Linked DNA regions of Homo sapiens: regions 2, 3 and 4 are each linked to region 1. The links are contacts of gene promoters, found by promoter capture Hi-C in blood cells and fetal thymus (Javierre and others, 2016). All regions are on one chromosome and are shown on one strand. The core of a region is centred on a gene start or on the middle of the fragment in contact, and the rest is flanking DNA. Distances in the headings are between cores, read along the strand shown. Region 1 holds the start of FIP1L1 (factor interacting with PAPOLA and CPSF1). Region 2 holds the start of SRD5A3 (steroid 5 alpha-reductase 3). Region 3 overlaps DCUN1D4 (defective in cullin neddylation 1 domain containing 4). Region 4 holds the start of LINC02480 (long intergenic non-protein coding RNA 2480).

Region 1 (7,326 bases), core at 1,687-4,186:
TACTCATAAACAGTCTATAAGACTTCATTCTATTACTTTCAACAGTGACCAAGAAGATTTACTCAGCGTTAAGCACTATACTAGGAATTGAAGTGATGGCTATGGGATGCCCTGTTTGGAGGTGGACTTGGTCTAGCGAAGAGCCTGAGGCAAACAGAAATATAGTCAAATAATTACTATACAGTGTGATAGGCACATGGCATAGAAGCAGCATGGTGTCTAGAAGGAGTGAGTTGCTCTGTCCCACTCACCCCCCAAATACATCTGACCTCATCTGCATTCTCTCTCACTCACTATACTTTAGCTACATTTTGAGTTTCTTGAACATGCCAAGTATGCTTCTACCTCAGGGCCTTTGCACTTCTTATTCCTCTGTTTGATAGTCTGTCACCCCGAAATCCACGGGGCTCACCTCCTGTCTCCATTCAAGTCTCTTGTATCACTTCATCAGAGTAGCTTTCCCTGACCACTCCATATAAAATTGCACCCCATCACTTCATTTTATATTGCTTACTCTTTTCACAATTCTTGTCATCATGACATATCATACGTTCATATGTTTATTATCTGACTCTCTTATTAGAATCAAAGCTCCACAAAAGAAAGAACTTTGTTTTATTCACTGTTGAATCTACATAGCTGGAAGAGTTCCTGGCAAAACAAATGGGAAGAGATAAAATGGGATTCAGGAAAGATTTCACAAAGGTGATTATACCCCCAGAGAGTTTAGAAGGATGCAAGAGATTATCATAAAAAGATAAGGGAGCTGGGAATAGCTGGCAGAAGTGTGTTCAAAGGTAAGAAAGATTAAAACCACATGGTTTGTTTAAATAATGTGAGATATTGGTTGGGCGTAAACCCTTCATTTGTGCTTCTATTACAACACATTCACCTCTTCTCTTGTAGGAGAGTTGTTTACTGCCCCTCTGTCTTTCTCAATAACTTCAGAGTTCTTTAAGGGGTGGGACTGTTTCACTCATGTCTTCATTTTCCAAGTTCTTAAACAGAGCAGATATTCTGTAATTGCTAAATAAATAAATGATAAAACAATATTTATTCATCAAGGAGCAAGAAAACTCATTTAGTTGTTCAATCAAAATGGATTTCTCTCTGTTGACAAGCGAATGCCCTGTTTGTAAACTTTATAAATGAAAGAGACCTCAGAGATCATCTAACTTGGCCTTTCCATTTTATAGATGAGAAAACTGAAGCATAGAAAGGTTGATTGCCTGACTATACAACCTGCTAGGTATAATGAAGAACTGAGGCCAGGCCTGGTGGCTCATACATGTAATCCCAGCACTTTAGGAGGCCTAGGTGGAAGGATTGCTAGAGACCACGAGTTCCAGACCAGCCTAGGCAACATGGTGAGACATTGTCTCTACAAAAAATAAAAAATTAGCCAGGTGTGGTGGCACCTGCTTGTCTGTAGTCCCAGGTACTCAGGAGGCTGAAGTGGGAGGACTGTTTGAGTCTGGGAGGTAGAGACTGCAGTGAACAGTGACCCTGCCACTGCATTTCAGCCTGGGTTACAGAGTAAGACTGTTTTTTAAACAAAACAAAACAAAACAAAACAAAACAAAACAAAACAAAAAAACAGGCCGGGCGTGGTGGCTCATGCCTGTAAGCCCAGCACTTTGGGACACCAAGGTGGGCAGATCACCTGAGGTCAGGAGTTCAAAACCAGCCTGGCCAAAATGGTGAAACCCCCTCTCTACTATAAATACAAAAATTGGCTGGGCATGGTGGTGCGTGCCTGTAATCCCAGCTACTTGGGAGGCTGAGGCAGAAGAATCGCTTGAGCCCAGGAGGTGGAGGTTGCAGTGAGCAGAGATCGCACCACTGTACTCCAGCTGGGCAACAGAGTGAGACTCCGCCTCAAATAAATAAACAAACAAACAAAAAACCTAGACAAACCTAGAGCTCCAGTTTGAACCATGGTATGTCATCTTTTCACTGGAAGATGTGCTTTCAGAAGCGGCCTGAACATTTGGTTTACCTATTAAAATAAAAACTGTACATACTTTATGATCTATCTTTGAGAAACAGACAAATCTGCAAGGAGCCGTGTGGATCTTCATTGTCATTTTTTGTTGTAGTTAAAAGTGTAAAGTCAAAAGCAATCTGGGTGTACATCAATGGAGAAATAGCCATATTCACTCTGTGATAGCCATACTATGCAATTTTATGAAGCACTTAAAATAGATATAGTTTGATTCATACTAAAATGAAAAAGAGCTCCAAGACACGGATGCTAAAAAAAAAGAAAAAAAAGGAAGTCGAAGGATGATACTATACTGTACTGTACTATTTAAGACTTGTCAATCTCAGGTTCTCCCACCAAAACAGCACAACACATGAAGTAAGTGTATAGGAAATTTCGGAATGATGAACTCCAAACAGGATATGCATCTGTAGCAAGGGCTACCTCCGGAGAGAAGGGTAGGGGAATGAGGCGGTCTTTGACCTTGACAGTAATTTATGGTTTTTAACAAGGAGAGTGCATTCTTCATCTATTAGTTTTGCTTTTGTTGGCTGTGAAAATTAATTTTTTGAGAAATAGTACTGATTGTGATTTCTTCTCTATTCAGTGAGGAAAGGGAGTGACAGGTAATGATTCTGTATCAAGGCTGATTAAAGAATAAAAGAAGGCCTTTCTGAAGATTAAAAAACAAATAAAAAGTTGAGAAGAAAGAGCACGAAGAGTAGAAGGGAACAATGGTGTACTCGCCAGCAATGGCAATACGGGTTATTAAAAAGAAGGGTGGGGGCGGGGAACCCTGGCCGACTCAGGACGCCACGGGAGGAAGCCACGCAAAATAGCAAACCGGGATCCTAGAGGGGCGGGGCCCACCTCAGCGCGCAGGCGCAACCAGGCCCAGGTGGCCGCCGCGGAAGCGAAGCCACCTATACGCGCCGCGCCGCTTGGGTCTCCTGCGCATGCGCAGACGGACCTGCGCTGGAGGCTTCATCTTTGCCGCCGCTGCCGTCGCCTTCCTGGGATTGGAGTCTCGAGCTTTCTTCGTTCGTTCGTCGGCGGGTTCGCGCCCTTCTCGCGCCTCGGGGCTGCGAGGCTGGGGAAGGGGTTGGAGGGGGCTGTTGATCGCCGCGTTTAAGTTGCGCTCGGGGCGGCCATGTCGGCCGGCGAGGTCGAGCGCCTAGTGTCGGAGCTGAGCGGCGGGACCGGAGGGGATGAGGAGGAAGAGTGGCTCTATGGCGGTACGAAACTTCCTGTCTCTGTCTCTCGGGTTCTCTCAGGCCTCCCCTCTTGGCCCTCAAACGGCCGGCGTCCCTGGCCTCTCGCGCCGCCGCTTCGGGCCTCTGGTTGGGAGTCCTGTCCGGCCTGACTTAGGCCGAGCGCGGCGTGCGCGTGCCCCCAGTCCCCGCGGCGGTCTCCCGCCTGGCCCACGCCCACCATGCGCATCCACCCCTGTGGCGGCCGGGCCGGGCTGGGGGGCTGTGACCGGTCCTGGCCCCCGGCTTCGCTGTGCTTTCCCCGAGGCGTCTCGATCGCCTAGCTGCTGCGCTCTTTACCCTTGTTTTTTTCTGTCGATTCTGAGGTGGTGGTTTTTGGTGTCTGTTTTTGCCCTGTGGCCTTAGGGTGCCCTTCCTGTCCCTTCTTTCAGAAACAGTCATTCTGTAATAATAGCTAAATAAAGTTAATGCTGTACAACTAACGTCTTGTTTCTTGATGGTCAGTTTGTATGGAATGCACCTGCAAGGGTACCTCCTTGTCTGAAAGTCGTGCTTTAAAAATAATTAATTAAGAGAGAGAGAGAGAAAGATGGCCCATAAAGAAAACTCTGAATGTCTCCTGTATTAAGGTGAAGTTATTCTTTTTTAAGAGACTACCGTTTAACCTACATCATGGAGGTATCTCATGACCCTTCGGCTTATAGTTTTCAGTGTCATCTCATGTATTTGTTTTTCTCAAAATAAATTTAATGCATCATGTACTTCTCTCTAGAAGGGTACTTGTTTGACATCTGGTTTTTAACTTTAAGTCACAATCCCTTCTTGCTTGTTAACACCAGATTTGAAAGTTAATGTTTGTTCCTTGCCTAAAACATATATTCTTGATTGTCTTTAGAATAGAATAGTAAAAGTGCACTTTGGGCACCATGCAGGTCCTTGATGATGTGACTTTGATAAACTTGTAAAAAAAAATCGTTTGGTGGCAAGATTTAGCATTAGTTACTACTCTTTGAAATGTGAATGTGTAGGATTTCTTTTACAAAGATCTGGAAATCTTCATTACCTCTTAAATTTAAGCTTATTTTTATAGCAGTAAAGTCTGATTTTTTTTTCCATAAAATAAGTATCTTGTTAAGTAATTATAAGGTGATCTAACTTTGGATGTGCTTATAGGCCCATGGGACGTGCATGTGCACAGTGATTTGGCAAAGGACCTAGGTTAGTGCTTGTGATGATCACTTCAGATTTTCATAATACTAGTTTCTTTAAGAGTGGTTTCTTTATTTTGTTTGCTTATTTATTTATTTGTTTATTTTACTTGGTAGATGAAAATGAAGTTGAAAGGCCAGAAGAAGAAAATGCCAGGTTAGTGAAATTTTCTGTTGATGCCTATTACACAGGTTGTGTGAAACAATGGTTCTGTCAGTTGTCAAAATTATTTTCTTACAATCATTGGCTTCATTACAACACTGACTTACAACATTTTGGAGGACATTGAATCCTTTAAGGATTATTCCAGTTTCAGGACCTAATCTTACGCCAATTCTATTTGTTGGTAGTTTAAAGGACAAAGTTTTTGAACTTAGGATTGGACTGATTTTACACTGTTAAGTAACTTGTTACTCTTAAGTGAATTCAGTAGTGAAGTATACAGTATAATCGTTAAGCTACTGATAAAAATATTTTAACTTAATTGAAAATGTTTTTAAGTAAATCAGGAACACTCCAAACTACTGCTTTTCCAGTTTATTAACATTTTTGATGATATAATGGCAGTTTGGTTGTAATTTCAATGCTATGTATTGTTTGCATTCAAAATGTAATTAGCTGATTTGTTATAAGGTTGATTTCTTTGTTAGATTGTAAGAAAGATGTAAGTGTTCATTTATAGAACATATACAGGGAGTCAGAATTTTACCCCAGATTTCAAAAAGCAAGCCATGTAAAGAAGTACATGGAGATGTCGGCTTTACCCTGACCACATGCATTAGTGTCTGTAATGGAGGGAGAGGTAGTTAGAAGATTTTAAGGAATATTTGGGTTTAAAAAGTGGAAGATATACAACTTCATACCGAGTAAGCTGCAATCGAAAAGATAAAACAGGTGTTAGTGAGGATATGGGGAAATAAAACCCTCATACACTTCTGGTGGGATTGTAAAATGGTGCAGCTGCTTTGAAGAACAGCCTGGCCATTTTCTCAAATGGTGAAACATGGAGTTACCATGTGAGTCCTCCACCTTAGAGGAATGAAAACATATTCAGACAAAAACTTGTACGTGAATATTCATAGCAGCATTATTCTTAATAGAAAGTGGAAAAAGAAAACCTCGCAGCTGCATCAACTGATGAATGGATAGATTAAATGTGTTATATCCATACAGCGGAATATTATTTGGCAAGGACAATAAAATGAAGTACTGGTAGATGTTACAACACGGATGAACCTTACAAATGTGGAAGCTAAAGATGTCAGTCCGTAGAGACAGATTAGTGGTTACTAAGAGTTGGGTGAGTGATTGCTAATGTATACAAAGTTCCTTTTGGGAGTGATGCATACATTCTGGAATTAGATAGTTGTGATGGTTGGACTATGTGACCATATTAAAACTCAGTTGTCCTGTTTGAATGGGTAGATTGTATAATATGTGAATTGCATCTCAAAGCTGTTACAACAAAAAATGGATAGAGGGAAAAAGTGAGAAATGGAAGTAGAAATAGCTTAGGAGGAGCTGAAACTACAGTTCAGCTTCCTTACCCAAAAAATCCCCTATAGTCTTTTCACTCATTGGTATATTATCTGAAATGTTATTTCATTTTAAAATTTATATATTCAACTCAGTTCCTAATTCTGATCTCAACCACAAAGTTGAGATTAGTTTTAGTTTATGTTATGAAAGTGATTGAATATTTCTTTGTACCCATTCCTTCAGTTGGTCAAGAAATTAATTACAGGTATAGTTTTACAATCAAATATACTTTTCTATATGATAATCTTTATCCCATTAATTTTTATTTTTATTGGTTACAATTTTAAAAGCTTACTTTCTAATCAAACATTCTTTAATTTTAATTCCGCAATACACAACTTGCTAAAATTTATTGGAGGGAACCTTCTACCTTCCCTGAGTGTCACTGTCAACATAGCTTTATATTCCTTTCTGCAACTTCATTTGGGGAGCCGTTGAGTTGATTTCATCCTATGGGGGAAAAAACAATTTCCTTTACAGTGTTATTTTTCTAGAAAAAGCTTAAAATTTTATCATGTTTCTAACATTTTAATGGTGATAGAAAATTAAAACTTCCAAAAGAGTAGGCCTATTGAAGAAAGGTACTCTGCCAGACCTACTGCTATCTGGCTTGGTACATCATTGCATTGCTCTACCAAAGTTCCTGCTATTAGAATTTGCCCGTTTCCTACTGACTGGCTCATTGCTGAAGCCTCTGTTTTTCTTAAACATTGCATTGCAGTCTCCAATTGTGTTATATCTATCCAAGTTTTGACTAAAGAAGGGATACTGTTTTGTGACGTAGAAAGCAAATGGGACTTGCTTCTGGCTACCTAGAAGCTTATTTCAGCAGGAGGTAAATGTACTGAACAATTATAGCTGCATATTTGTTTTCTTGAAGCAAGCAGTAGAACAATGAAAATATAACAGTTATGTTTTGACTTTTTATCTTTCATTTTGCTTTATTTGGTGATTGTGCTATAAAATGCCACTGTAAAGATCAAATTGATTTAGGATAATTAAAATTGATTAAGTTTGTCATATATTTTTAAAATGTGTAAAAAGCTTGAATTATAGCCCACCATCAAATTATAAATCATTAATAAACTGTGAAGGCATTTGCATTCTTTTTTTTTTTTTTTTTTTTTTTTGAGACAGCATCTCACGCTGTCGCCCAGGCTAGAGTGCAGTGGCATGATCACTGCAGCCTCACTGCAACCTCTATCTCCTGGGTTCAAGCAATTGTCTGCTTCAGCCTTCCGAGTAGCTGGGATTACAGGTGCCCGCCACCATGCCTGGCTAATTTTTTTTTTTTTGTATTTTTAGTAGAGACGGGGTTTTACCATCTTGGCCAGGCTGGTCTTGAATTCCTGACCTCGTGATCCACCCACCTCAGCCTCTCAA
Region 2 (7,326 bases), core at 1,417-3,916, 2.0 Mb after region 1:
CCAAACTGCCTACTAGTTCTGATACCTTATCTGTGGATGCCATTGGAGTTTCTATTATTGGAGTTTCATATAATCATCAAATAATGACAGCGTTATTTCTTACTTAGCAGTCCTTATATGTTTTATTTCTTTTTCTGATTTATTGAGATGGCTAGGGACTTAAAGCACTGACTCTAAGGATAATTGAATTTAGATTCATATTTTGAAGGTAGAGCCAACAGGATTTGCTGACAGATTGCATTTAGGCTATGAGAGAAAGACAGGAATCAAGGTTGAGTTTAGGGTTTTTGGCCTGAGCAACTGGAAAAATGGCTTTGCCGTTTACTGCAGGCAATACCAGTAGTTTGTTGAACATATAGTGCAGTTAATTAAATGAAGAAAGACAAAAATGCTCACTGATATTTATTAGCAATGATCTTTCTAACAGATGTTAGCCTGGTATTCCACTTTTGAACTAACTCACTCCAGTAAGGATTTACATTTACAAATACTCCCAGGAGGGTTTAACTTACGGCTTTCTGTTCAGCCACTGCCATCTACAGGGGGCTTCTCTGAATATAAACTGTGCATGCTGATTAAAATCTAAAAAATAGCCAGGCAGGGTGGCTCACGCCTGTAATCTCAGCACTTTGGGAGGCCGAGGCAAGCGGATCACCTGAGGTCGGGAGTTTGAGACCAGCCTGACCAACATGGAGAAACCCCGTCTCTACTAATAATACAAAATTAGCCTGGTGTGGTGTCACATGCCTGTAATCCCAGCTACTCGGGAGGCTGAGGCAGAATAGCTTGAACCCAGGAGGCAGAGGTCACGGTGAGCCAAGATCGTGCCATTGCACTCCAGCCCGGGCAACAAGAGTGAAACTCGGTCTCAAAAAAAAAAATCTAAAAAATATATGGGATGATTTTCCCCTCCAGCCTCCTCAACCCTTCCTGTTTCCACTACACACACACTCACACATACACACACACTTATCTTGTTTTCAATCTTGCCCCAGGTCAGACAACTGTAAGAGAAACTCCTACCCAGGAAACTGAGTCCCTGCAATGCACTTACAAGTAGCTTCTCTGAAAAGAAAAAGATCATGGACAGACCAGCTGCATTTACAGAGAGTTAACCTAAGAAAAATAAAGAAACAGTGAAGGGGTGCCAGGAGCATTGGCTCATGCTTGTAATCCCAGCACTTTGGGAGGCCGAGGCAGATGGATCACGAGGTCAGGAGATCAAGACCATCCTGGCTAACACAGTGAAACCCCATCTCCACTAAAAATACAAAAAAAAAAAAAAAAAAAAAGCCAGGCGTGGTTGGGGGGGCACCTGTAGTCCCAGCTATTCGGGAGGCTGAGGTAGGAGAATGGTGTGAACCTGGGAGGCAGAGCTTGCAGTGAGCAGAGATCAGGCCACTGCACTCCAGCCTGGGCGACAAAGCGAGACTCCATCTCAAAAAAAAAAAAAAGAAAAGAAAGAAACAGTGAAAGGGTGACTCCCGCAAAAGAGATCCAGGATCACTCAATAAGGCCTCATTGTCCTAGCTAGAATGCCAATTTAACCATCCTTAATCACCTGGCTGTCAAAGGACGGGTAAAGCCTTAGGTGTCTTTTGCACAAAGAAGAAAACTTTAAAAGCTTGCTCATTTAACAGTCCAAAGTCCCACTAACCTACCCACCCTGATGTTTATTCAACACACATATCGGGTATCTCATTGGGGTAAGGGTGATGAGTTGGCTACCTCTCCCCTCTTCCACTTCTCACCCACCACCCAATCTCAAAAATGTAAGCTCCAAATAAGCAGTGACAATTATCTTGTAAACCCCTCTGTCCTCAGTATCCAAAATGATGCCTGTCATACAGTAGGCATACAATACTTCAGAATTAACATTTTAAAGACTTTTAAATACTTAAAAGAGCTAGATTTTCACTTATAGTAAATAAAATCAGTGTTGTTTAAAATCAGTGAGTCAATAAATAGCATTGTCACTACCTGAGATAAATGTTACAGGAAACAGCTGATGGAATTTAAAAACTTTGCTTCTAAGGATTGGAACCCTATTGGTAAGCGACTGCTGTTTTTTAAACACAGTTTTTACCACTATGATTTTTATTATTATGTGCAATTACTTGTCTACATGTTTACATTATACACATATCCAACACATTTCCAGCATCCTAACATAATTATTCATTTTTGGGTGTGATCTGCCTTCTTTATCCATATATACACACATTCATATTAATATAGTTGTTTGCAATCATAGCTATGTATTTTTATGGTTGGTTTTGTTTTTCACTTCACATATTGTTTCCTAAACAGCTTTCCCTGTTTCTACACTCGTCATAATAATTCTCAATGACTGCATGATATTCTAACATGTCAGTGTATCATAATTTAGCTAAATAAACTAAAATGCAACATGTAAGGTTTCCATTTTTTGCTTTGGAGATAATGTTGATAAGAGTGGCAGACACGTGGTCTCGTCTGTTTTGCGTCTTTGCTTCTGATGAATCATATTCTGGAGCTCCATCTAAGAATCCCCATGCCCAGATTAGGGACTGCGAGCGACCACCCAGCGCCAGCGCGACCAGGACCAAGGACCTCCGCGGCTGAGCGGCGAGTCCGGGAGGGGCTCTGCGCGTCCCCGCCCCGCGCCGCGTCACCGACGTCCCGCTAGGCTGAGACCGGTGCGCCGCGCGCTAGTGGCCGCTCTTCCGCGGGCTAGCGGGCGGTGGGGGCGCCAGCAGCGCGGAAGGCGGGCACGCGGGCCATGGCTCCCTGGGCGGAGGCCGAGCACTCGGCGCTGAACCCGCTGCGCGCGGTGTGGCTCACGCTGACCGCCGCCTTCCTGCTGACCCTACTGCTGCAGCTCCTGCCGCCCGGCCTGCTCCCGGGCTGCGCGATCTTCCAGGACCTGATCCGCTATGGGAAAACCAAGTGTGGGGAGCCGTCGCGCCCCGCCGCCTGCCGAGCCTTTGATGTCCCCAAGAGGTAACCGCGCCCCGGTCCCGAGCCGCGGTGGTCAAGGCGCTGAGAGTTCGGGGCGCCCCGGCTCGCGGGCAGCCAGCAGGGGGCAGCAGAGGCGGGACCCGGCCTGGGAGGCCCTGGCGGGTTCCCGGGCGCAGCACGGCGCTCCCTCGGCCTGGCCCCGGCCATGCCCCGGCTGCTGCGTGGCTCCGGGGAGCAGTGCCCGGGTGTCCGCGGACGCCGAGGGAGAGCGGAGCCGCTTGCACTCAGCTGGAGGAATGTGAACTGGTAGCCGCACGGAGCCTTTCCCTGTGGGAAATGGCAACGCATCCGAATTTAGGCCTGGTCATGCGAATTTAGGCGGCAAATTGAAGTGCCCCTTGCCCCAAATTCTCCTTTTTCCCGTACCCTGCACTCCAGTGGCTCATACTCTAACTTGAGGTCACCGGGAATCATTTGTGGAAATGAAGTTAGGCCGGCTCTTCGGCCTCGGCTTCCCCCGTTTCTCTTCCCAACCCTTGCAGTGGGGACAAAGGACTGAGTCGCCCTAACCTGCACCTTGGCAGGTGCCCCTGGGGAAGGTGGCCCAAGGTGCAGGTCATAGGCAGGCCCGTCCCGAAGCTCCATTTGACTTTCGAAAAATTCTGTAACCCAGTTCAGCGAAGGATTAAATCGTCAGGTTTTAAATAGAGACCTGTTATAATTTTCTTCTTCTCCTTTTTCCACTTTAAATTCAGGACATAGCTGGAAAGAGTTGGCCAAATACTATTCGAGATGGTAGAAATAGAACAGTGCCCCTTAAGATGCATCTTAGGCCGGGCGCAGTGGCTCACGCCTGTAATCCCAGCACTTTAGGAGGCTGAGGCAGGCGGATCGCTTGAGTTCAGGAGTTCGAGACCAGGCTGGGAAATATAGTGAGACTCCGTCTCTCCTGAAAATACAAAAAATTGGCAGGGCTTGGTGGCGTGTGCCTGTAGTGCCAGCTACTTGGAATGAAGGCAGGAAGATCATCTGAGATCAGGCATTGGAGACTGCAGTGGGCTATAATCATGGCACTGCACTCTAGCCTGGGCAACAGAGAAATACCTTGTATTTAAAAAAAATTTTTTTTTAAAGGTTAAAAACATCTGGGTTGTCGCTTGAAACACTCATAGGCAGTGCCCCAGGTCCGCAGGCAACAAAGGGACAAGTATAATTTGGCTTCTAAAACTTGGATAATCTGCGAATTTTGACTGTCAGAGAAAGATGTGTCATGTGTTAACACAGAGAAGGGAGAACTAGGTCATTCTGAGGCACCCTAAAGGGAAGAAGTAGAAGTACATGAAACAAATTGATCAAACCTCCTGTTTCCTAGAGGCTCTTTTTAAGCAAAAATTACCTGTTATCCCATTTGTAATCAGGGTTGAATCCTTTTATACTTCACAGCAATTTATTTTCTGAGTTTTGAGAAAGGTACTAGTCTAGTGTACCTGGATTAAATGGCACATGTAAAATCATCCCCTGAACTTGCATACACCCCAGCTGTTGCAACTCAAGTCTGTTATTACATGACAGCCAAGAAAGAGACTTGGTACCTTTTCCTTATTCATTACTGTAACAGTTGGTTCTGTTTGGACTTCCTGTAATTTCTACTCTATTGTGAAATAATTTACACCTTTTTCTTCTTCCAGAATTCTACAGTAGAACCTCCCATAGTGTTCAAGTGCCCTTCCCCTCCTTCTCTAAATTTAAACAGACATTTCTTTTAGTACTGGAGAAGGTACAAAACATCCAGACCAATAATGAAAGGCATTTTTATTGTGACAAAAAAAAGATAACTTGCATCAAAACTGGCAGTGTCTCCAAAAAATTAATACATGTATTACTCTCTTTTTAAATTTTATACCCCTGTTTATATGAAATAGGCAGATAATTAGAGTTGGGTGGAGGTAAGAGTCTATGGCCTCTTTTTTATACGTCTCTGTATTTTCCAAAATGTCTTCATTCACAAGATGCTTATCACTTTTATCATTTAAAAAAATGTGCTAATGGCTAAGGAGCATGTGGGAGAGATTTTACTGGTTTATAAATAGTAACCACCATTGACTAAATGTTTACATATATGATTATGTGATGACTACTAAGGAGTACGTGCCTTTCCTCATTTAATCCTCACAGTGGACCTGTGAGGGAGATGTTATTGTCATTATTCCCATTTACACACATGCAGACTCAAGCTTAGAAGATAGCAGTTGTGCAGTGATGCTAGTACTAGCAAGGGTGGTACCTGAACCCTGCCTGTTGGAATTTAAATCCCAAGCTCTTATCCTCTGGTATACTTCGTGGGAAATATCTTGTACCATGTGAAGCTCAATCTGTGTGAAAGATTAAGTGAGAATGGATTTATCCCAGATGGTAGCATTTAGTAAATATCTTGGTTAATCCAAATTTAAAATCATTTGGTAACGTTAACCTTGATACTTATATGTGAATATTTTTCCTGTGCAAAATCTAGTAGTACTCTTTTGTTTTGTTTTTTTGAGATGGAGTCTCGCTCTGTCGCCCAGGCTGGAACGTAGTGGCTCAGTCTTAGCTCACTGCAACCTCTGCCTCCTGGGTTCAAGCAATTCTCCTCCCTCAGTCTCCTGAGTAGCTGGGACTAGAGGTGCACACCACCATGCCTGGCTAATTTTTGTATTTTTTAGTGGAGACGGGGTTTCAACATTTTGGCTAGGCTGGTCTTGAACTCGTGACCTCAAGTGATCCACCCACCTTGGCCTCCCAAAATGCTGGGATTACAGGCATGAGCCACTGCACCCGGCCCTCTAGCAGTACTCTTAAAAATGAAAATAAGTTCATAATTGCTACAGTTAGAAATAGGCAGTTGTAAATCCCATTTCTGCAAATAAGGCAGTATGTAGGTAATTTTGTTTGGGATTATTTTTTTCTTTCCTACGGAGGCAAGAGTAAAACCTGAAATTGGTTCTTGGAATGTTTGTTTCCATGACTCCTGTCTGGTAGATTTTTTTTTTTTTTAAATAAGGTGATGGTTGCTTTTTTTTGTTTTCCTTTTGGTTCCTAGAGTTTTGATTTCCCAGGAACTCTGAATAAACAGGTGACCTCGAACATGTATCATGATGCTCTGGGTTGCATAGTGAATGTAGAAGAACTTCTTAAATTTCAAAATGATTCCAAATGGTATCGAAGCTTTGGAATTGAATTGGGCTCTAGAGGCAAAAAGAGCTGCCCAGACTTTCCCCACTGAAGTCCAGGGAGCATTAACTGGAGGTTCAGAGGATCTGTGGATAGAATTCAGGGCAAACTTGGATTGAAAGAAAGTTATGTCTTTATTTTCACTAACCTCTAGCTGAAATTTAGCATTGCCTTAATTATGAATATAATCTACAAACTACGGTAGAATTAGCAGTATCTGTAACTCTGTGATAGTTTTTTTATATTACATTAAGAATATTGATGATACCTCAAAATATTACTGTTTTCCTTGTTATGAGAACACTGTAGTCTTTCATCACTAGATCTTGTTAGTAGACACATTAAGAAGTATACATATTACAGGCTGGGTGCAGTGGCTCACACCTGTAATCCCAGCACTTTGGGAGGCTGAGGCGGGTGGATCACCTGAGGTCCGGAGTTGGAGACCAGCCTGGCCGAAATGGTGAAACCCCATCTCTACTAAAAATACAAAAATTAGCTGGGCATGGTGGCGAGCACCGGTAATTCCAGCTACTTGGGAGGCTGAGGTAGGAGAATAGCTTGAACCTGGGAGGTGTAGGTTGAAGTGAGCCAAGATCGCGCCACTGCACTCCAGCCTGGGTGACAAGATTGAAACTCCTCTCAAAAAGAAAGAAATATACGTATTACTATATTGCAAATTTGTTTTTTAGTAGTTGCATTACTTGTATGTCACTATAATTGGTTTCCTTTGTAAGCCTGCTGCATTTTACTTTATGCTTGTATAATTTTTTTTTGTAAATTGACAGTTTATCATTGTATAAATTTATAGGTTACAAAGTGATGTCATAAATTGTGAATGCAATGTGGAATAATTAAATCAAGCTAGTTAACATATCCAATACTTCAAATACACTTCTGTGATGAGAACATCAATTTTGAAATGTATAACACTCTATTATTAAGTATATGCAACACACTGTATAACGTAAATCAAAAAAAGCATAAAACATATTCTTCCTGTCTGAGATTTCGTACCTTTTGACCATCATTAAATTTTTTTTTTTTTTTTTTTTTTGAGACAGTCTTACTCTGTCACCCAGGCTGGAATGCTGTGGTGCAGTCTCCGCTCACTGCAACTTCCACCTCCTGGGTTCAAGCGATTCTCCTGCCTCAGCACCCCCAGTAGCTGGGATT
Region 3 (7,326 bases), core at 2,389-4,888, 1.5 Mb before region 1:
TGAGATGCACAAAATCTGATTGGCATGTGGAAACTGAGACCAACAGAGTGACTATTCATGTGTCATGTCTCGTGCTCATTAAGTAGAAGGGAGGGTGGGCAGTTAGTGAGACAACTGAAATTTCTTTTCATCTCGCTTCTTCCTTTTTTATTTTTTTTGACCAAATGAGAAGAGTTGAATTTGTGTAAGCTAAATATCTATTTTCTGCAACTCCAGTGTACTCAGAATCTCTCCTCTCCATTTTTACAGCCAGTGTCTAACTTACGGCCCTAATGCTTTCCCACCTCAGTCACTTCTAGTCATCTCCATAAATGGCCACTCTAAATTCAGATCACCCATCATCTTTGCTGCACACTTGTCCTAGAGTGATCTTTTTAAATAACTCTCCTGATCAGAACACCTCCATGGCACCAAGACTCTCAAAGGAGTGCTTCTCAGACTTCCCACCAATGTTTTCCTGTACAGAGTTTGGTGGAATAAGTTGTTTCAGGGTCCTGGGAGCACAGCTTGATGTGGGGATTATGTTTGTTTTCATGTAAGACTGTCATATTATTGCTGATTAGAATTGATGCTGCTGGAATGTGCCATTCCTGTCATTACGTTTGCATGGTCTCTGGTGCCTGTGTTTGAGGTACAGATCCTTAGGAGATTAAATCTAAACGCTCAAGCAGGATTCACAAGTTCTTCATTTTCTGATCTTTGCCTTCCTGTTCAGTCTCCTCTTACCATGACACTTCTCACATTTGAAGATCACTTGAAGTGCCCTGAATGTATTGAATTTAAGCCTTTGGTGCCTTTGTATCTGCGTTTATTCATTTGTTGAATATTTATTGAGCACCTAATATGTGCCAGGTACTCTTCTAGGTATTAATATTACGGGATACAGCAATGGGCAAGATTTAAGTCTTGGCCCTTGTGGAGCTTACATTCTAATGGGAGAGGATGATGACAAATATATAATATAATGTCAGATGGTATTAATGCTGTGAAGAAAAGCAAAGCATGGTAAGATGATAGAGTGAAGATGGGGCTCTGTTGGTCTGGCAAGGTTATGTAAGGAGGTGATTTTTAAGAATTTTATCCTTAATTGACAAATAATTGTATATATTTACGGAGTACAATGTGATGTTTTGATACATGCATAATTGTGGAGTGATCAAATCAGACTAATTAACATATCCATCAAAGGTGATATTAAAATGGAAACCTGATGAAGTATGAGAGCAACCATGTTATTATTAGGGGGAAGAGCGCTCAAGGTAAGGAGAACAGCACGTGCAAAGGCGCTGAGGTGGGAGTGTTCTTGGAGTGTTAATGGAGCAGTAGGAAGCTCACTGTGGCTGAGTAGAATGAACAAGGGGAAGATGAGTAGAAGATGAGATTGGAGAGATTAGCAGATGCAGGGTGTACAAGGCCCTGAGCCCATGATAAGTTTTCTTTTGCTTTGAACAGCTTCCCCTTCCATCTGTAACTATTGGGTGAGGTGGAATTAATTTTAATTTGTTCTACATGCTGACCAGTTGCCCCTCTGTTTACTGAATTATTATGTCTTCTCCATTGAGTTTGAAATGCCATTTAATTATATGTTGTGTATGTGTATTTATACGTATATGTTTATCAGCTCTCTGTCATTGATTTTTCTTCTTGCACACATAGTATAACATTTTAATTACTGTACCTTTATACCAGGTCTTGGCAAACAATGGCCCATGGGGCAAATCCAGCCCTACCACCTGGTTTTTATAAATAAAGCTTTATTGGAAAGCAGCCATACTTACGTATTGTTTATGGCTGCTTTTGAGCTACTATGGCAGTGTAGTTGCAACAGAGACTGTATGGGCCAGAAATCCAGAAATATTTACAATCTGGCCCTTCATACAGAGTTTACCAGGCTCTGCTTTATACTGTGTATTGATATCTGATAGGGCAAGTTCATCCTCATTCTTTTTCAACAATTTCTTGGCAGGCCTAACATGTTTATTTCTCCAGATGAACTTTAGAATCAATCTGCCAAGCTTGCCTGACTTCCTTCTTTTCCCCACCTCTTTTTGGGGTGGAGAACTGGGGAGCCAGCAGAATAGGAATTTTGATTGCATTAATTTGTGGTTTAGTGAAGGGAGAAGTGATTGCTTTACAACGTTGGGTCTTTCTATTCCAGAAATATCTCTTTACGTGTATATCTTTCAGTAAACTTTAATTGTTCATTCTGAACAATAAAATCATACATATTGGAGTTTATTCCTATATGTATTGTTGCTTTTTGTTGCCATTATAATTGCGTTCTTGTCCCAGTTATATTTTGCAAGTGACTATGGTATAAAGGGAAGTTTTTGCTTTTTATGTATTTAAATTCTGTTTCTAACCCTCTTATGAGAGTAAACTATTAGGACTGTTAATTTTTGTTTCTTTTGATTGAGAGTCATTGTCTGAACTTACCAATAATTGTTTTATTAATGTTTATGTCTCCCCCTGTATTGTGTAGTTTTCTTACCTAGAGTAGTTTGGGGGAATGGACTTTGACCCCCTCAATGGCATTCATTTTTTTTTCTTTTGTGTAGGTCACAGCAAATGGTAGTTAAAACAAGCAAAAAAAAAAAAAAAAAAAAAAAAAAACCCAGACAAGTTTATGCCCAATCAGCAGTTGTTGGTAGTTTTAAGAAAATCCAGAAGATAATCTAGGCAAGCTATTTATCAAGCAGGCTGTGCCTTTGTAGAGCTGATTGCTGGTTTTAATACAGACTATAGAGTTGCCATGTCACACAGGAGAGTCAGACTCAGCACTGCTTTACTTTGGAGAGCCGTCTGATCATGGAATGCAGTCAAAACCCAGCATTTATCCTTTGGAATTGAAATACGAGCAGAAGGAGATTTTTATCAATCAGTGCTTTCCAGAATACGTTCTCGGTAAAGCATTTGATCTTTACCCTTAACATCTAGGCCTTAAGGAGGTGAAATCTACTGTAGATTTCAAGGGCTATTACTTGCCATGAGCATTGAACAGATGAACTGTAAATCCAATGTGTGTTAACCTTTGTGAATCTATCTTTTAATGACATTTTTGTCTTTTTTTTCTCCTGAATTTGTGTCTTAACTTCTCCTTATGTTGATGAGACGAAAGAAAAATTATCCATGTTACTGGTTTCATTTCTTCCTTTTTCTTTTTTCTTTTTTTAGTTGAAGTGATGATGATGTGGTAGCAATAGGGATTGGATATAGAAATGGATAATTGGTGACATATATTATGTATTTGTGAAATGAACCTGTTTACTCTTGTTGCCTTTAGTAAAGTAAAACTTCATACGTGGAACCTGATTTTAAACATAATATCTGTATTTTTGTTCCTGTGTGTTGTGATTATCTGCAGTCAACATTATGAACATCAGTTGCTGGTATATGAGTCGCAGTGCCATTCTTGCATTACTATAAAGAAATACCTGAGACTGGGTAATTTATAAAAGAAAAGAGGTTTAATTGACTCACGGTTCTGCAGGCTTTACAGGAAGTATGGTGCTGGCATCTGCTTGGCTTCTAGAGAGTCTTACAATCGTGGAGGAAGGTGAATGGAGAGCAGGCACACCACATGGCGAAAGCAGGAGCGAGAGAGAGAAAGGGTGAGAGGAGGTGCCACACACTTTTAAATGACTGAACCCCATAAGAACTCACTCACTGTCTCAAAGACAGCACTAAGCCATGAGGGATCCGCCCCCATGATCCAAACACCTCTCACCAGGCCCCACCTCTGGCACTGAGAATTACAGTTCAACATAAGACTTAGGTGGGGACATATCCAAACTATATCACCATCATAGGCTAAAAGATGTACCAGGCCACCTGCCTCAATTACAGAGGAAGCTCTGACCTTGGGATCATTGATGTAAGGCGAGAATTGAACCTAGGAAAAGTTAGAGACTATTTTAGACAGCTGTGTGGTATGGAGAATGGTGTAAGTAAATATAGTCGGAATTGATGTCTTTTATTGAGCACTTACTATCTTCCAGGTATTGTAATGGGTACCTGACATACCTAGACATTGTAATAGGTGTCTGATAAATATTTTCAACCATACAACAACATTATGAAGGAGAATTTTTTATCCTCACTTTACAGATGAGAAAATTGGTAGACCTGAGATTTGAACCAGCTGTTAGACTCCAGAGTCAGGTTGTGAAGCAAAGTGGATTTTTGACAGGAATAGAGTGGTTTTGTGTGTGTGTGCAAGTGTGTGCACACATTTGAATTCTCTTGGGTGTAGGAAGGGCAGTGGGCAGAATGTGGGGTTGGAAGGAAGGGTTTTGTGGAGTGGGGTGGTGAAAGATGTTTGGAGTATGAGTTGGGCCCAGCTCACCGAAGTCCTGGAATTCCAGATTGAGGATAACTTGTGTTTCTTGTCTTTTCTACTTCTTCCACATTTATATAAAGGAGGGAGAAAGATATAACAGTTTTGGTTTATTTAGATTCTCTTATGGGAATTTTGGGAGTTTAATTAACAGCAGGGTGGTGAAATGACAAAAGCATAGCCTGGAGAGTTAGAAGAGACCTCATTGCTGGAATGGCTTTTGGCAAGCCCCTTTTTCTCTCCCCTCCCTTACCCTCAGTGAAAAGAGAATCAAGAGGCTAAAGTTTTCTCAGTTTTTGCTTTTTGTTTTTTTGGGGGCCCAAGAGTTTAACTTCATATTTTAAGGTGATAATGGAATGTATCATTTGTCTTCCTATATTTAATCTGAGAGAGTACAAAAAGGGGGCTATGGCTTGGTAGTGGATGGGGTGGAGGTGCAAGAGTTGAATGTTCAAGCTCCTCAGCACCTCTTGCTGGTCCTGAGAGGCCTCTTGCTGGTGAGAGGGCTGTAGCTTCTAGCTTCTACCCCTGTTCACGTTTAATAAATATAAATGTAAATAAATAGGTGTATAATACACATACTTTTCTAAACCTCTGTGCAGTCGTATTTAGATGAAAAATCCAGATTCTCAGCCACTTTATGTCATCATTTACCTTAAGCATGGCTGGGCTATTCAGATGCTAAGCAATTCAAGCATGTCTATATTGGAGGGCCATTTAGAGCTTGAGGCCCTGCTCTGGCTGTCTCTCAGCACAAAATGCTGGTTTTGGGGACCATTCTATATGGCTATGACTGTGAACAGTGCATATGCACATGTATGTATACAGGTATGACCTGCTGTTCCTGACACTGCATGTGAATGTGAGGGGCTCTGCTTCTGCCAGCCCCTCTGCCCTGCAGACCTACTCAGAACTGGATGCCCAACAAGCTTTAGAAGAGAAAGTAAAGCTTTCTAACTGTGAACAGGGAGGCCAGCTTGTTTTCAGGGTTCAGAGTAGCAGCACAGAGGATCCAGCCCAAGCACAGACACCTGATATTGTAGCACCTGCTCTTTGGATCTGTTCTTTGGATCTGATACGTGTCCTAAATAAAATGTTTCAGTAAAGGGAGCTTTTTTTCTTTCTTTCTTTTTGTCAGAATGGTATAACTTGGAGAGTTACAATATCTTTTCATGGTCATTTTCATACTAACCTTTAATAGGAAAGAAGGAACTAATGTAAATCCTGATATTTTGTGAAAATACTTCCAGTGGTACTTATATATGAAATTATTAATAAACTTTCAGCTTACATTTTTATTGCCTAATATATATGCAAACATACTTTACTTCAAGTTGAGGCTGCGCGTAGTGGCCCACACCTTTAATCCCAACATTTTGGGAGGCTGAGGCAGGAGGATCACTTGAACCCAGGAGTTCAAGACCAGCCTGGGAAACATAGAAAGACCCTGTCTCTACAAGAAAAAAAAAAAGAAAAATTAGCTGTGCATGATGGTGCACACTAGTAGTCCCAGCTACCATGCAGGCTCAGGCAGATCACTTGAGCCTGGGAGTCTGAGGCTGCAGTGAACCATGATTGCACCACTGCACTTCAGCCTGGGCAACGTAGTGAGATCCTGTCTCAAAAAAAGGAAAAGAAAAAATAAATACTAATGTTGGGATGCTTTTCTATCATTTTCTTGCCATGAGCTTACTTAATTGTACCAGTAATTCTAGGGAAGAGAGGGGAAAGTGAACATTTCATTTGAGACTTATCTTTCTATTAAGTTCAAGTTCACTGCTGGCAGGATTTTATAACTACTGAAGTACTTTTTGTTTTACCTTAGAATTCACATGAAAATTTCATGAACTTTAACATTTGGTTGGGAATTTAACTTTATTGTCAGACTATTTCTAGGAGGTCACTAATTGCATGTTTTTAAAAAACTTTAGTGTCAAATTAATTGAGATAGTATTTAATTATATCAAAACATTTGTTTATTTTCTGAGTTTGTTTTTTTACAATATTGGAAATAAATGACGCTGACATTTTTCCTTTTTCTTTTCAAGATTTTCAGCTGAACTCTCATCTCTCAACACTGGCAAATATTCATAAGATCTACCACACCCTTAATAAGCTGGTAAGTCATTCTTTTAAAGACAAAATTACCAACTGTTTGAAGTAGTCATTTTGTATAAGTGTATTTGATAAAAATTTAGATTCTAGATATTAGGATATCAGTTGTTTATGAAAATGCTAACGGTATGTGATTTCTTCGTAATAACGAACATATTTCTTTCAGAACCTAACAGAAGACATTGGCCAAGACGATCACCAAACAGGTATCTGTAAATGCTAACACTACTTAATTTTAAATAGCTTCTTAATATTAGGAAAGAGAAATACTAGCTATGAATGCGCTATGTTGTCATAATGTACTCCATTAACAAATTGTTCCTTGGCTGAGGTTGTTTTTCAGGGAGTAATGAAGGCAGCCATGTTATAGCTTCTTCCCAGTAGGAAATCTCTTCTGGAAGCACTTTTTAATGCCTTTAAAGAGGCTCGGGATTCTCATAGTTTCAAGATACCTTGTTTTCTCTACTGCAGTATTTTCATTTATATTAAAAAGGTGCTACAGTAATGCAATTTGAAAGGTATTCCACAAATATTTGAGAAATTCAGCTGAAAAATGATTTAATATGGTGTGTGTGTATGTGTTCATAGTTACTGAAGATTTAGAAATCAGAAAATTGAAGCTTGATTAGTATAAGTTATCCTCTAACCCTGTGGTTCTCAGAGTTTAGCTGGCATTATGATCACCTGAGGGAAGGCCTTGTTTAAAGTACAGATGTTAGGTTCCACCCCAGAGTTTCTGGTTCTGTAGACTTGGGGTGGGGCCCCAGAGTTTGCTCCTATGTGATGCTGATGGAGCTGGTCTGGAGACCACTCTTTGAGAACCACTTCTCTCAACTGTTAGTAATCATCAAGTCCAGAAACTTGCATTTGATCTA
Region 4 (7,326 bases), core at 608-3,107, 1.3 Mb before region 1:
CGGTGCCATCCGGAGCTGTGAGGCTCTCTTTGTTTCTCGGACCAAGGTCTCCTTGGCTAGGGTGGGAGGGGCCGATATCGAGACCACAAGTGGACGCGGACCGGCGTGGTGACTGCGTGGGCAGAAGTGAACGAGTGGTCACTTAGGTGGCTGGAGTCTTGAAGACTGAGAGTCCTCAAGGAGGACGTTGAATCCTTCGGGCTGCTTGACTTCGGAGGCCTATGAAGTCTGATGTTTTTATCCTGCGATACTGGGGATGGATTTTTCATTTAGTGTTGGAGATAGTGTTACCATGTATATCCTCGGGAACCTAATTGAACGGACATTTACTGAACACCGGGAAGCCACTCAAATGTACGAGTTACTTGAGTAGACATTCATTGTTCCCTGTTGTAGATATAATCCAATAATTATTTTAGCTGAAAAAAAATGCAGTGAAGTCAATAGCAACTGTTCCTCATGTAGCTGAATCACTTCTAATAAGCACCTTTGGGCCCTAGTACTGTCTAATTCAGTGGGAGTCAGTACCTAGCTGGTCATCAGTCTCTCTGCATTTCTTTTTTCCTAAATGCTGGAACCACTTGACTCATATCTCTAGACTCACTCCTCTCTGAGTCTGTGGGACAAACATGCATTTTAGGCAGGAAAATTCTAAGTTAAAGCCCAATGATGCAGGAGTCAGCAGTAAGGCTCTGTGTTAATATTCTGCCTGTGGTCTCATTGATCAATTTGCACAACTGGGCTTTTAACTGATTCTGAGTTCCTATCTTCTAGTCCTTAATTCCTAAGCTTTGCGTTTTTCTCTCTGCTGGGAAAGTTCTTCTTCCCTGGCACGCGCACTCTTATTCATCCTTCAAGAACTATTCTATTCAAACGTCATATTTTCTCTAAAGGCTTCAGAGGCTCCCACAGATCTGTTCCTTAACTGTGTGCCTAGCCTTTTCTAGCACTTCAGATTGCATTGTATTTTTATCTTGTCTACCTGCTGATTTCATTCAAAAGATGGTGTGTTCTATCTGGAAGGTAGGTGTCTTACTCATCGTTTAATCTCCAATGTCTAGCACAGTAATTAAACTTAATAGATATCTTAGAAATCTGCCCAGTATCCCAATTTCTAAGCCCTGACTTGATTTTGCCAACCTCCCTCCCACTTAGGTGGTGAGATACCTGGTAGCCAATTTTCCTGAAACCAAATGCTCCTTTGGCTATTTGAATATCACCTTCTCTTGGATTCTTTCCTCATCGCTGATGTCCATCTCTGACAGGACATCCCACTATTCTTAATGCCAATTTCTATTCTCTTTTAAAGAGATCCAATTCACTCACATGACCACATTTTAATGTGGGTTATTTTCAAATGTACTATTGTCAGCCTTTTTTCCCCTGAAATAATGACATTTAAAGTCAACTCTGTGCCTGGCAATGCCTCTTTTACAAATGAAGAAATCAAGGCTTGTAGAGGTTAAATGGCTGACCATCTTTTCAACTCCTAAAGAGCCAGTATTGAATCTAGGTCCATCTGACTAGTCTTTGCTCTTTCTACCATACATCACAGCCTTTAATTTTGCTCTTTCTTTTGACTGTTGCATGATATTAGCATTTGGAAGCACAAAACACAGGTCCCCAGGGCTGGAGTATGAGTCAGATTATGAAGACACTTACACCTTTGTTCACTTTGCAGTGGTTTGAATAGTGCCCTGCAAAAAGGCATATCCAAGTCCTAACCTCCAGTATCTGTGAACGTGGTGTTACTTTGAAACAGAGTCTTTGCAGATTGCTATAGAATGAATGTTTGTGTCTCCCCTGAATATTTCACATGTGGAAATCTTAGCCCCCAGTGTGATGATATTAGGAGGTAGGGCCTTTAGAAGCTGACTTAGTCCACTTTGTGCTTCTATAACAGACCATCTGAGAGTGAAGAATTTATAAAGCACAAAAAATTATTTTCCCACAGTTCTGGAGGCTGAGAAGTCCAAGCAGGTTCAGTTGTCTGATGAGGGTCTGGTCTCTGTTTCCAGGATGTTACCTTGAACACCTTGTCATCCTGAGGGGAGGAATGCCAAGCCCCTATGACCTGAACAGCTCTCAAAAGGCAACACCACCCAATGCTGTTGCATTGGAGATTAAATTTCCGAACATGAATTTTTGGGGACACATTCACATCATAGAAGGAAATGATGGGTGATTAGCTATCACTATTCATGATTAGTTCTCATGAATAGGATTAGTGCCTTTATAAAATAGATCCAAGAGAATTGGTTTGTTTCTTCCACCATGTGAGGACACAGTGACATCTATGAATCAGGAAACAGGCCTTCACCAGACACTAAATCTCTAAGCATGTTGATCTTGGATGTCCCAACCTCCAAAACTGTGAGAAATAAAGCTCTGTTGTTTATAAGCCACCTAGTCCATATTCTGTTATAGCAGCCCAAATGAACTAAGACAGATGTTTTTAAGGATCTTGAGATCACTCTGAATTTAGGATGAGCCCTTATCCTTATAAGAGGACAGAATGGCAACATACACTAAGATGATATGAACATAGAAGCAGAGATTGGAGTGATCACTCTACTAGGCAAGGAATACCAATAATTGCCAACCGCTACCAGAAGCTAAGAAAGAGGGATGGAGCAGATATACGCTTAGAGCCTCCAGAAGGCTCTGATTTCTTACTTCTAACCTCTGGAACTGTAAGACAACAAATTTCTGTTGTTTAAAGCCACCAAGTTTGTGTGTTACAAATACACACTTCAAGTTCAACACATGAAAAATTTGAACTCAAAACCTTTCTTCCCAATCTGGTCCTCCTGTGTTCCCTTAGTGAATGATATCACCATCTAGTCAGACACCTCAAAGTAGTTCTATACTATTTCTGGAATGATCTTTCTAAAATACAAATCTGATCATGTCACTCCTCACCCTCAAGCTTACCATACTCCAATACCTTTCATGATAAAATTTAAGCTCCTTATATTTGGTCCTTCACCAAATTTTGGTCCTTCACCAAAAGGTTAGAAACTTTTGGTCCTTCTGCCCCTTTCTAGCCTTGTTTCCTGCCTGTCCCACACACACATCCAACGTGACTACAGAGGAGTCAGGGAATCAGAGACAAAGTAATCTATCCCTTTATCCCTGTGCAATATTTGCAGCCCCCATCTGCTTGCCCGAACTCAAGTTCTTAATGGCTCTGTTCCTTTGCATATGTGGCTCTTTCTCCTTTTAATCTAGCTGTCTCTACTTGTCCACTAAAACTCAGATCAAGGGATATCTTTTCTGAAAAGCCTTTCTTAAACCTTCTCCCAATCATACATTTCTGATTTGTGTGGACCTCTCTGTGATCCCCAAGCATGCTGCTATTGTCACATCACACTATACTGAAATTTATTTATTTGTCCATCTGTTTTAGTTATCTGTGAATTCATGCCTCTCCAGATTCTTCCCATTTTTCAGAACCAACCTCAGTCCTACCTCCTCCTGACAATCACAGCCAGTCCTTATTCCTCTTTCCTTTTAACTATTATTGCACTAATTTGCTGTAACACCCATTTGATACTTAGTGCAGTATCTTGTTACTTTACTTTTCATGCATATACAGTTTGCTTCTGATTAGACTGAGTTCCTTACAAAGCAGAGGTAATGTGTTATTATTTTCCATGTTGCTCTAAGTCCTGAACACATTAAGAACCAAGTATATAATACATACTTAATAGCTCTGATGAATATTAAATTAATTTTTTCTATTGGGTAAAAAATATTACTAGCATCTAAGTATCTCTGACATCGGTATCTAATGCTCACCATACCATACCCCAGAGAAGGCCACTAGACTAACCCTCATCTCTGTGTCTTCTAAGTGCTCTTTCAAGGGTCCAGTTCTGCCCCTTCCATACTTAACCTCTGTGACCTCCAATGTGATATAAAAGAGACCCAATCATACAGTTTTTCTATTTACAGCCCTTTGCTGCCTCCCCACTGCCTATGAAATAAAGATCAATTCCTTTAGCCTGATACATAAGACCCATCATAGTTGAAACCAGGACTATCTTTGCAGTCTTGTCTCTGATTCCCTGACTACTCTGTAGTCACATTGGACTACTATTTGTCATTTTCTGCCCCTCCATTCAATTTCATGCCTCTTTGCTATGATTCTTCCTGTTTCAAGTTGCTCTTCTCTTCCTGGTGAACGTCTCTCCATCCTTCCAAAACAGGCTCTAAACATTACCTTTCTATGACTTTCCCTGATCCTTTTTCAGAAGATGGGAAAGGAGGCAAAGGAGGAGTCATTGTTTCCGCAGAACGTTTATCTACTCTAACTGACAACATTGAAGTATGGTTGCTTTTCTCTTTCTTGAATAGATTATGAGATTCTAGGGAACAGAGACTGAGCTTAATTCTGTCCATGCTTAAGGCAGATGGTTGTGTCACACTAGAAATCCAGTAAATGTTTATTAAAAGTGCTGAAAAGGATCTATTTCAACATCACTCATCCTAGGGACTATCTCGTGCTATCCCATATCCCTCTCCTGATGTGCTTAAGGACATCTTGCAAGGTAGACCATATCCACTGTGTCTCTGCAATAGCTTGATATGTCCTGAGCTTACTCCTCCTCGGGGGATTTTCACAGAACCATGACCTTGCCATTGCATTTAGCTAGCAGAGCTGAAAAGATGGAGGGTGAGGACGCCTTCTTTTCTGAAAAACCTATGATGGAAACCTGGGTTGCGATAGGAAAAATATTTTGCAGCTCTCCAAAATCACACTACATCTACCTTGGGTTTTTTCTCCTTCTAATCTGTATTTGTTGCAAATGTTCTATAGTTTATTTAGGGGCTAAGGTGATACACTTGTGATATATTTAAAATTTCCTCTTGTTTTTATAGTTTAATCAATAGTGCACATGAAATAATTGTACAAAAAAATTCTGAACTGCTGCTCTGTGTGGGTAGTGCTCCTTGGTATGACACAGCAAACAGCATTCTTCCTTCTGTCAGTGGGGGAACCTGCCTCCCACTCAGTTCCCAATAAATTCATTTGTTCTCCAATGGGTGTTTTTTAGAAAATATTTTCCTTTCCCTTAATGTGGCAGAGAAAAGGACAAAACAGAACTCCTGAAAGGAGAATACAGAACACTCAGGTTAGAAAACACTTAAGTGGACAAAGAAGTGTTTTGCTACCTACAAGAACAAAGTGCCTCTGAGCACAAAGGGCCTAAGCAATACCTTGGATAAACATTGCATTTAAAGGCAACTTTATGCAAGTGGGTCAGCAAAGACTAAAAGATTTTCTTCAAATAGTAATACAGGCCCTGATCCAAAGACACAAGATCCAAACACAGACAGCAGAAGGAGAAGAATACCGTGGCTCAGCCAGGAAAGGATGAGGAGTGCTTAAAAGAGCATCCAAGCCAAACACAGGTTGTTCTTATCAGCCCCTGGCTAAGGGTTAGCAACTGTCCTTAGTGAAGAAGACTTGAAATTAAGATGAAAATCCTACTGCGTAATATAATCCCCTGTAATTTATTGCATATATTTATGTTTGGTGTAGTGTGAACTAAATATACATAGCTCTCACTTCAGCTCTCACTTCAGGCAGTGGATTCAGCTCATCTTTTGTTGGCTTCTTAAAATGCCCAATTAAAAATCTTTCAAGCTGACTGATGTAGGTAAAAATCCAGGGTAGACAAAATTAAAATCTATTCCAAGGCCGGGCATGGTGGCTCACGCCTGTAATCCCAGCACTTTGGGAGGACGAGGTGGGCGTATCACCTGAGGTCATGAGTTTGAAAGCAGCCTGACCAACATGGAGAAAGCCCGTTTCTACTAAAAATATAAAATTAGCCGGGCGTAGTGGTGCATGCCTGTAATCTCAGCTACTCGGGAGGCTGAGGCAGAAGAATTGCTTGAACTCGAGAGATGGAGGTTGAGGTGAGCCAAGATGATGCCATTGCACCCCAGCCTGGGTGACGAGAGTGAAACCCCGTCTCAAAAACAAACAAAAACCCTATTCCATCTACGTACTTGACACATTATCCTTTCTAGAACAAATCACTCCTGGCTAGGTAGTAGAATTATGACACCGTAAGAACCACGAATTGGCTGTTAAAATTGCCTTCTATCTCAGTGGATTATGACATCAGATACAAAGCAGCCAATCACATCCTTTCCTTTCCAATCTGTTTCCTTTTCCTTCCTCTCTTCCTCCTCCTGGCTCCCAACTTGTTTCTTCTTTCTTATGTGCCAGTTGCTGTGCTGAGGATATGAAGCTAAATAAGCCTCTCTCCTTTTCCTCATGAAGCTCAAAAGCTTAGATAGGAAGCAAATAAATATAATATAGCATGATAATTGCAAGAATATTAACATGTCCAAAAGTTAAAGAGAGAAAGCATAAAGAAGAAAGTGATGAGCTCTGAGGGGTTGAGGTAATTAGGAAAAGTTTATCAGTTTAAGCTGGGTTTAAATTTGTTAAAAGTGCAACTATAGAGAACTTCCTTGACTGGAGGTTAGAAATAGTAGTTATTCTAGCAAGCTGGCAGAATAAATTTTACTAAAAAAGGGAGCCCAACTTTTGGTGATTGGCTAATGCGCCCAAAATCAATGCTTGACCTAAGGTGAACTATGAACCAAAAATTGAAACAAAGATCAAGATTTGCTCAATCTTGAACCTAATCAGTATGGTAAAACAGTATTAAAGACTGTCAGAACTGCAGGGGATCTGGGAGCTCATCTATTCCATATTACTCATTTTATAGATGAAAAAAATGTCTCCAAGTGATTAAAGATTTATATGAAGTCATAAGAATTCACTAATTGGCAGAGTGTGAGATAAAGCAACAGTGTTTATGTTTTGAGTTTGCTGTTCTTTCAACTTCTCCCAAAATTGCTTAATTGGTAATGTCCTAAAATAATCAAATTAGGACAAAATTTGAGCATCAGAATATTCCCCAAAGAGAATCATTACTTATCGGATATTTTCTGTCATATGTGAAAAAAACGAGGCTTATCAACTTTTATTTATTTATTTATTTGAGACAGAGTCTCCTCACTCTGTCACTCAAGACAAGAGTGCAGTGGCGCCATCTTGGCTTACTGCAACCTCCGCCTCTTGGGTTCAAGTGATTCTCATGCCTCAGCCTCCCGAGTAGCTGGGACTACAGATGTGCACCACCTAATTTTTACATTTTTAGTAGAGACAGGGTTTTGCCATGTTGGCCAGGCTGGTTTCAAACTCCTGGCCTCAAGTAATATGCCTGTCTTGCCCTCTCAAAGTGCTGAGATTATAGGCGTGAGCCACCACTCCCGGCCAAGACTTATCAACTTTTAAAA

The links. Contacts are between HindIII fragments. The CHiCAGO score rates a contact against its expected background, and 5 or more counts as called.
Region 2: the fragment with the promoter of SRD5A3 here is called in contact with the fragment with the promoter of FIP1L1 in region 1 in 1 of 17 cell types (total CD4 T cells); the score reaches 6.8 in total CD4 T cells.
Region 3: a contact is called between a fragment that was not itself captured here and the fragment with the promoter of FIP1L1 in region 1, in 1 of 17 cell types (total CD8 T cells). The highest score is 5.1, in total CD8 T cells.
Region 4: a contact is called between a fragment that was not itself captured here and the fragment with the promoter of FIP1L1 in region 1, in 1 of 17 cell types (naive CD8 T cells). The highest score is 6.2, in naive CD8 T cells.

The regions. Positions count from the first base shown.
Region 1 is chr4:53,374,705-53,382,030 of GRCh38, forward strand. FIP1L1 (factor interacting with PAPOLA and CPSF1) reads left to right here and starts at 2,937. Exons shown (of 18, transcript NM_030917.4): 1 at 2,937-3,219; 2 at 4,369-4,413; 3 at 4,521-4,560. The coding sequence starts at 3,135. It overlaps LOC105377654 (a long non-coding RNA gene), which reads right to left and starts at 3,036. Exons shown (of 3, transcript XR_007058118.1): 1 at 2,955-3,036; 2 at 893-1,026. RefSeq lists enhancers at 2,655-3,203, 3,005-3,094, 3,145-3,264, 3,204-3,752 and a silencer at 3,425-3,514. The HindIII fragment of the contact is 4,469 bases long and covers 1-4,270 here.
Region 2 is chr4:55,343,576-55,350,901 of GRCh38, forward strand. SRD5A3 (steroid 5 alpha-reductase 3) reads left to right here and starts at 2,667. Exons shown (of 5, transcript NM_024592.5): 1 at 2,667-2,982. The coding sequence starts at 2,762. RefSeq lists an enhancer at 2,388-3,148 and silencers at 2,600-2,769, 2,980-3,249. The HindIII fragment of the contact is 3,550 bases long and covers 1,623-5,172 here.
Region 3 is chr4:51,857,053-51,864,378 of GRCh38, forward strand. It overlaps DCUN1D4 (defective in cullin neddylation 1 domain containing 4), which reads left to right. Exons shown (of 11, transcript NM_001040402.3): 2 at 6,385-6,455; 3 at 6,618-6,657. Among named protein-coding and RNA genes, the nearest start is that of DCUN1D4, 18 kb to the left of the region's middle. The HindIII fragment of the contact is 3,250 bases long and covers 2,014-5,263 here.
Region 4 is chr4:52,038,614-52,045,939 of GRCh38, forward strand. LINC02480 (long intergenic non-protein coding RNA 2480) reads left to right here and starts at 6,192. Exons shown (of 3, transcript NR_147189.1): 1 at 6,192-6,422. The HindIII fragment of the contact is 2,140 bases long and covers 788-2,927 here.